2 separate regions of the Homo sapiens genome follow, and region 1 is linked to region 2. The links are contacts of gene promoters, found by promoter capture Hi-C in human tissues and cell types (Jung and others, 2019). All regions are on one chromosome and are shown on one strand. The core of a region is centred on a gene start or on the middle of the fragment in contact, and the rest is flanking DNA. Distances in the headings are between cores, read along the strand shown.

Region 1 (3,501 bases), core at 616-3,115, 48 kb after region 2:
CCCGCCCCCTCGGCTCAGCCGCGCCTCCCGCTCCATGGGGTGCAGTAGGGCAGCTCCTCACATACGTGCGCGGTGGGAGGCGCTCCCTTGGGCCCCCGGGGAGGAGGTGCCACAGCAACTCTGGACTCCTGTGTGCAGAACTGGCCGCGGAGAGGTGCCCAGGGCGAGACCCCAACCTCTGCTCCCTGAGCCCAATGCGGGGCTCTGGGTGGCAAGACCCCAAGCTCCCTGTGGTGACTTGCCCCCCGGACGGCCAGGCCCAGCTAGTGTGGCACCGCGTGTGCAGAACTGAGGTTCTTCCAGCCAGGAACATGGCCCGGTGGGCTCTGGAGAGCCCCGTAGAACTGGGGGTGCCATCGAAAACAGTCTGCCCTTGGCACTGCAGGGCCCCACCGGGCAGGGCGCTGGGGGCAGTGAGGAGGGTCCCATCTCAGCTGTCTTCCCTGTCAGCCTTGGATGCGAGGCTGATCCACACCTCTGAGTGACTGTGTAAGCCTAGGGGTTCCTGGTGAGTTTGGGATGGGTGCCCCAAGATCGTGGCCGTGTCCCTAAAGAGGGCACGTGGGGACCTGAGGTCCTACGGGAAAACTGAAATGATGCCTCAGTGCTCTGTCCCGCAAACGTGAACGCACACTCTCCCTCTCAGCCTTCCTTCCCGCCCCACGGAAGGAGGGTAGACACAGAGGGTTACACAACGAGGAGACTGAGTCCAGACACAGGAAACACTACTCAGGGCTGACGCTGAGTCGAGTGCGGTACCCGAGTCCAGCCCTGCACGGCCACACCTCAATGGAGCAGAAGAGAGAGGTGTCCTGGGTTCCTGGATAGTTCCCCAGCCCCAGAAGCCCCTTGTCCCTAGGAATTTGAATTCTTACTTGATGACAACAGCGACATCATGGTGGCCCCTGTTATTCCACAGCCTCAAAATTTAACCGCTGTGAGCTCACTAGCAGCTTCTGCCAGGCGAGCACCCCTTCCCTCGGGGCTCAGGCTCCTGGACAGGCTCAGCCTTGGGCAGCCTTCGCCAGGTCCACAGAGAATGGCGTTGGGAAGGGTGGACCTGGCGGATGGGGTGGGGACAGGCGGGCCAGACCCTCCTTCGTACCCCAGCACAGGGCTCCCAAATGAGAGGTCCCCAGCACTGCCCAGAGGAACTTCTGCGATTGTGGAAATGATTCCTGCCTGCTTTGTCCATTAGCCACTCCTCCCAGGAAGACACACACACTCACTCACTCCACCTGCCACGAAGGAACTGAACTTCTAACTGTATTTAATTCGCATCTAAATGGCCACACGTGGTTGGTGGCTGCTGTAGTTGACAGCGCTGCGTGAAGGCTCCGGCGCTTCTCGCACCGCAGGGCCCACAGCACAGACCACACCTGTAGACTTGGAGGAGTGGCAGGGGTGCCAGGAGAATCCTGCCCTGCCCGTAGCCCCGGATGAAAGGATGACATTGAGTTCGCGACGCTGCGCTCCTCGGGAACACGAACCACACCTGGAAGCAGCCTGCCCCTGTGGCCCCAAGGTTCCCGGGTCCCTTCAGCGGCTGCCCCAGGGGCCTGGCCGGCAGTGTCTGGGAGGGAGCAGCGATCCCGCCTCCTGGGATCTCCCGGGCGCCGCCCGGGGAGGAAGCGAGGGGCTGGGGGTGCTGCTCACCCGCTCCGCGCGCCTCGGCTCCCAACACAGCGCCCCGGCCCCGCGCCGCGCTCGATTCCCCGGCTCCCCGCGCCCCTGGCTCCTGGCCCTCCCCGCCCGGCGCCCCGGCCCCGCGCCCCGGCCCCGCGCACAGCGCCCCCGGCGGCGGCCGAGCGGAGCCCGAGCGGGGCGGCGCACGGCGCGGGGCCGGGCCGGGCGGCTCCCGGCGCGACTTCCTGTTGTGCCCGCGCCCCGCCGCCGCCGCCGCCCGGCGCCCCTCGCCCGCGGCCCGGCGCGGCCGCCGCCCATGGATTTCACCTAGTGCCGGCGGCCATGGCCGCGCAGTGCTGCTGCCGCCAGGCGCCCGGCGCCGAGGCCGCGCCCGTCCGCCCGCCGCCCGAGCCGCCGCCCGCCCTGGACGTGGCCTCGGCCTCCAGCGCGCAGCTCTTCCGCCTCCGCCACCTGCAGCTGGGCCTGGAGCTGCGGCCCGAGGCGCGCGAGTTGGCCGGCTGCCTGGTGCTCGAGCTGTGCGCGCTGCGGCCCGCGCCCCGCGCGCTCGTGCTCGACGCGCACCCGGCTCTGCGCCTGCACTCAGCCGCCTTCCGTCGCGCCCCCGCCGCCGCCGCCGAGACGCCCTGCGCCTTCGCCTTCTCCGCCCCCGGGCCGGGGCCCGCGCCGCCGCCCCCGCTGCCCGCCTTCCCCGAGGCGCCCGGCTCCGAGCCCGCCTGCTGTCCGCTGGCCTTCAGGGTGGACCCGTTCACCGACTACGGCTCCTCGCTCACCGTCACGCTGCCGCCCGAGCTGCAGGCGCACCAGCCCTTCCAGGTCATCCTGCGGTACACCTCGACCGACGCCCCCGCCGTGAGTCCGGGGCGGGCGCCGGGGCTGCGGGCCGGTCCGCAGGGCGCTGCTAGCGGCCTCTCGCCGCACGGCCAGGCTGAGGGACGCGAATCTGCGCCCTACAGGTGCCCCCCTCCCCCCACCCCGGTGATTCCCAGCTGTTGCCTGTGAGCCCTTAGGACCCTCGGATAGAAGCCGGAGTCCTGCGGGGACACGGGACAGCATGTCACTCCGGGAAGCCTCCCGTTCAGGTGTCTGGTCCCTGCCTGGGGACATGAGCAGCTTCTGTCACCCACCGAGGTGTACATCTGCAGGATCCTGGCACCAAGGGTTGGGCTGGAGTGTCAGCTGCGGAAGGGCCTCCATGTGACCAGTGCGTGCAGATGAGTCCAAGCCAGAGGCAGAGGAAAGGGCCATGGAGATTGTGATGCTCGGTTTGGGGCTTCCTTGGCCAGCACTGGTGGAGTGTTGAGACCAGTGGGCCCCGCGACCCCAACATAGACACACATAGGCTCTGCAGGGCTTGCACACTGGGTACCCACCACTCCAGAGACTCTGCAAGAAAGGCCAGGTGGCTGAGGCTGGCGCTGTGGCTGCAGCACCCCCTCCACCTCCACCAGTGGGGATGTGTACAGGATGGAGCAGGGCCTTTCCTGCCTACAGCATGGGGGTTCATACTGCATCCCTAGGTGGTATGGACGGCACACATGTGACACCCGACATATGCAAGACACACACAGCTGTGGAGGCGCTGGGAAGTCCAGCTGTCACTGGTCACGGCACATAAATGGACAGGGTGGTGGAGAGGTGGTCGAGAGGCTTCAGGCCACAAAGAGCCAAGGTGACATCTGGGCAGGAAGAACCCAGACCAGTGCACCCCTATGGGCTTCCTGTACATTTCCCAGGAGCCCTAAGCAGGACCTGCCACCTCACCTTTTTCCCAGAACCCCTGTGGGTGTGCAGGCCGCTGGCTAGCCGGCCCCGCCCCTGCTGTGGTATTCCAGGGCTCTGACCGGTGGCAAGTAT
Region 2 (3,935 bases), core at 1,144-3,643:
TGGGTAATCAGGCCACTGAAGCTTATTTTGCAGGTAGGTTGTTCTTGCTGTGATTTGCCTTTGGTGGAAGTGGGGGATTGGAAAGAAAGATTGCATTTTAGAAAAAAACTCTAGTATCAGATTAACCTTTGATTCTTGGGAAGCCGCAGGGACACCCATGGTGTGCAGCTGCCCACGACGCCCCTCCTCAGCATGAAGCAGCGAGACGGATGCGTGGCCTGATTCCTCATGATTGAGGAATTGACGAATGGGGGGGAAGGGTGTTGAAACGGGCCCAATTGTCCCATAGAACTGATGTCTATGGTTTCTTTTAAATAAACATAGAAATTGACCCTTCCATTCTTTAAAACTTGGGAACGTTACATTTGTCTTATCTGAGCTCCTTCCTCAGGAAACCAACCAGCAGTCCTCCTAAATAGTATCAAGGAACAGAGACTCACTAGATCACAGCATCTGGACAGTGAGACCCTAGACCCCTCACCCATCATGCCTGCCTCTGGGACCACCAGCTTCTTGCTGACCAACTCTTTTTTCTTAGCCCTCCTAATTCCTGCTTTCCCACACGTGGTTATATTTCTTCCCTGCTATGAAACCCCCAATTTTAGTCGGTTGAGGACAGGGTTTGAGAACAATCTCCTGCTCTCCCTGGTGCAGCACCCAATTAAAGCCTTCTTCTCTGGCAGTACCTGTCATCTCACTGATTGGCTTTCTGTGCAGTAAGCAGCAGGATCTAGACCGAACCCCTGGCGTTTTGGTGACATGTTCATTTCTGAACCCACTCAAATATTTTAATTTTTAAAAACTTTCTATTTGAAAGATAAATGTGTAAATAATACATTCCTGATCAGCTATGAACAGGTGAATAAACATGTGACACAGTGAAGGATGTCCGTGCCCAGTTTAAAGGTTGTGACCTTAATCAGTTTCAAAGACGGAGTCCAATCAGTAAACCTAAAAAGGTATGAAATTATCCTGAGTCTTAAACCAAAAATTCTGTTTTCTGTGTAATCTTACACTTGGAAGAAAAGTTTAATTTCCAAGCTGAAAGGCTGTGCACTAAGGGGCCTGGACAGTGAGACCCGCCTGCCCTCAAACACTCAATGCCGCCTGAGTGACAACTGGCAAGGCTGGTGCCCAGAGAGAGCCATCAGCTCTCACCCCATCAACACCCTGTGAAGAAGGTAAAGTGCTGAAACGATGGACGAGTGTTTACACAACCGGAGAAGAAAAACAAAATCTACAAATAAATTTCACAGCCAAGTGGACAGAAGCCCATCATGGGTCTGCATAATGGGCCCCCTGTTCTGGGGGCACCCAAAGGTGGCCCTGGTGCCAGTTCGTCACCCATCTGGAATCTTCACAGCCACTGTGGACAGCAGTGGTTTCTTGAGTGTGGATGGGTGGATGCACTGAACGGAAAATTGTGATGGGGTTGGTCTAGATGTTAAATTAGAGAAATGATTGTAGGGTCCTTCAAAATACAAAGAGAAAGAATGACAACAAGGGTTCAGGCAAAGGGATGAAATACAACAGATAACGTCACGTTAAAGTGAACAGGAAACGCCGCAGTGAGCCCACGCTTGCTGTCATACTTCCATCTCGCCCCATCCCCTGTGAACCTAACGAGGCCCTCATGGACTGACGGAGCTGCGAGAGAAGCCTGGCCTCACCCCAGACGCCTCTGAGAGGAGGAGCAGTCATGGGCAGCGACCGATTCCATTCCAGAGCAGTGGAAATTCGGGAAGGAAGCCCTTCCAGCAGCTGTGCTGTGGGAAGGGCTGCAGGAATCTGGGGCCAAGCACGGGGGTACACACTGCCCAGGGGGACAGGTGGGAAAAGGAGAGTTGTTTGAACGAGCTAAGCCCATAAAGCCCTGAGTCCCCAGTGAAACTCAGCAGAAACACTAAACTTTCTTCGAAGAACTAGCAGGCTAATTTATTCCAGAGCAAAATGCCCTGTGAAGCCGCTTGCTCACGGGTGGGTGTGGCCTCAGAGAGGGAAGAAGCCGTCCGCTGGGAAAGGCACTTCTTAAGAAAAAAAATATAAAATCAGATTCCCCTTCGAAGATTTTTTCTCAGCTAAATATTTTGCGGCTGGATCTGTTGAGCTAAAGATAAAACCTCAGCACCAAAACCCTTTGCCTCTCCTGCCTGCGTCCTTGTGATGCTGAGCGTGGGTTGAAAGGAGGCCCGCCTCCTCCTGAATATAAGTCTCCCCTTTCCAAGGGGCCTTCAGGATGCGCTTCCCCTTAGTTTGCTTCAACACTGGGAAAAAAATCACACGGATCGTGAAGTACTCTAAAAACTAGCTCGGTGTCCAAATCCTGTCTGGGGACATGGGTGAAAGAGCGGGCTGTGGGACCCCCCACTGCGGCGCGCCGTCATCACTCACAGCCCAGGTGGTCGCCTGCAAGAGCCCACCCCTCTCTTCCGCGCCTAGGTGGAGCGAGGAGCTTCCCGGCCAGTGCCCGGGAGTCTGCTGCGCTCGTCCCGGCGCCCGCCCGCCGCGGCTCCTACCTGCGGCGGAAAGCAGATGTCGGTCCTCGCCCCGTGCTCCAGCAGCAGCCTCACCCCATCCACGTCCCCGGCCTTCACAGCAAGGAACAGGACCTGCATGGGCACGCAGCACAGGTTGGGGTCCGCGCCCCGGCGCAGCAGCAGCTTGATGGTCCGCCAGCGCTTCCTCCGCCTGAAAAAGACGGTGCGCCCGTGGGCCCCTGGAGGGCAGGCACCTGCACTGCGCCCAGAACGGGGCCATGCCAGCGAGGAGGCTGGGGAGGGGCGCGTAGGGAGTATGTGTGTGCCGCAACTACACAATCACACACACAGCACACACCCACACACGCAGACACACCACACAGCACACAACTACACACAAGCCACACCAGAGCGCACACACACGGCACACACAGCACACCACACAGCACACTCACAACCACACCCACAGCACACCACACAGTACACACAGCACACAACCCCACACACAAGCCACACCAGAGCGCACACACCATAGCACAGCGCACACCACACAGTACGCACACGGCACACCACACACCAGAGCACACAAACCACACTACACATACAGCACACAACCACACAAACCACACACACACCACACACACCACTCACACCACAAAGACACAAACACACAGGCGCACACACACCTCTGAGGGGTCACTGAAAGGCTGGCCAGGTCAGGAGTAAACTGTGCCTCCAGAGAAAACTTGGGCCTCAAGAGAGGCTGGGACCAGGTGGGTGGGGGTTGTGCAGCCGCGCAGGGCTGAGGGAGGAGGGGACTGGGGGTAGGGGGCCCAGATGGCAGCGGGAATGACCATGAGGGCAGGGCAGGTGTAGGATCGAGCCAAGCCCACTGGCCCTGCAGTAGGCACAGAATCGGAGCCGCGGGAACTAGATCGTCCTTGAGCACTTGAGCAGCAGCCTCCAGCCCAGTCTCCAGACCCGTCTCCAGACCCTGACCACTCGGAAGCCCAGGGAGCTGCGTTGACGTGGGTGCTGGCTCTCCTTGTCTGCCGCTACCATGTAAAGCTCAAAAACTGTCAAAACATGTCCAGGATCTATGCCTTTCTGGTGGGTTGTTGGTCTCGCTGACTTCAAGAATGAAGTCGCGGAACTCGCGGTGTTACAGCTTTTTTTTTTTTTTTTTTTTTTTTTTTTGAGACAGTCTCGCCCTGTCGCCCAGGCTGGAGTGCAGTGGCGCGATGCCACTCACTGCAAGCTCCGCCTCCCAGGTTCAAGTTATTCTCCTGCCTCAGCCTCCCAAGTAGCCGGGACTACAGGCACCCGCCACCACGCCTGGCTAATTTTTTGTATTTTTAGTAGAGACGGGGTTTCACCGTGTTAGCCAGGATGGTCTCCATCTCCTGACCTCGTGATCCACCTGCCTCGGCCTCCCAAAGTGCTGGGATTACAGGAGTG

What was found. Contacts are between HindIII fragments. The study calls those that stand out against the background at their distance.
Region 1: the fragment with the promoter of RNPEPL1 here is called in contact with a fragment that was not itself captured in region 2 in 2 of the 25 tissues and cell types used here (H1 embryonic stem cells and liver).

Annotation. Positions count from the first base shown.
Region 1 is chr2:240,566,619-240,570,119 of GRCh38, forward strand. It overlaps RNPEPL1 (arginyl aminopeptidase like 1), which reads left to right and starts at 1,866. Exons shown (of 11, transcript NM_018226.6): 1 at 1,866-2,496. The coding sequence starts at 1,969. RefSeq lists silencers at 1-72, 1,583-1,842, 1,873-1,932, 2,073-2,262, 2,503-2,552 and enhancers at 2,313-2,951, 2,823-3,002, 2,952-3,501. The HindIII fragment of the contact is 6,553 bases long and covers 1-3,501 here.
Region 2 is chr2:240,517,846-240,521,780 of GRCh38, forward strand. ANKMY1 (ankyrin repeat and MYND domain containing 1) reads right to left here. Exons shown (of 18, transcript NM_001282771.3): 9 at 2,517-2,688. Among named protein-coding and RNA genes, the nearest start is that of ANKMY1, 38 kb to the right of the region's middle. The HindIII fragment of the contact is 6,500 bases long and covers 1-3,935 here.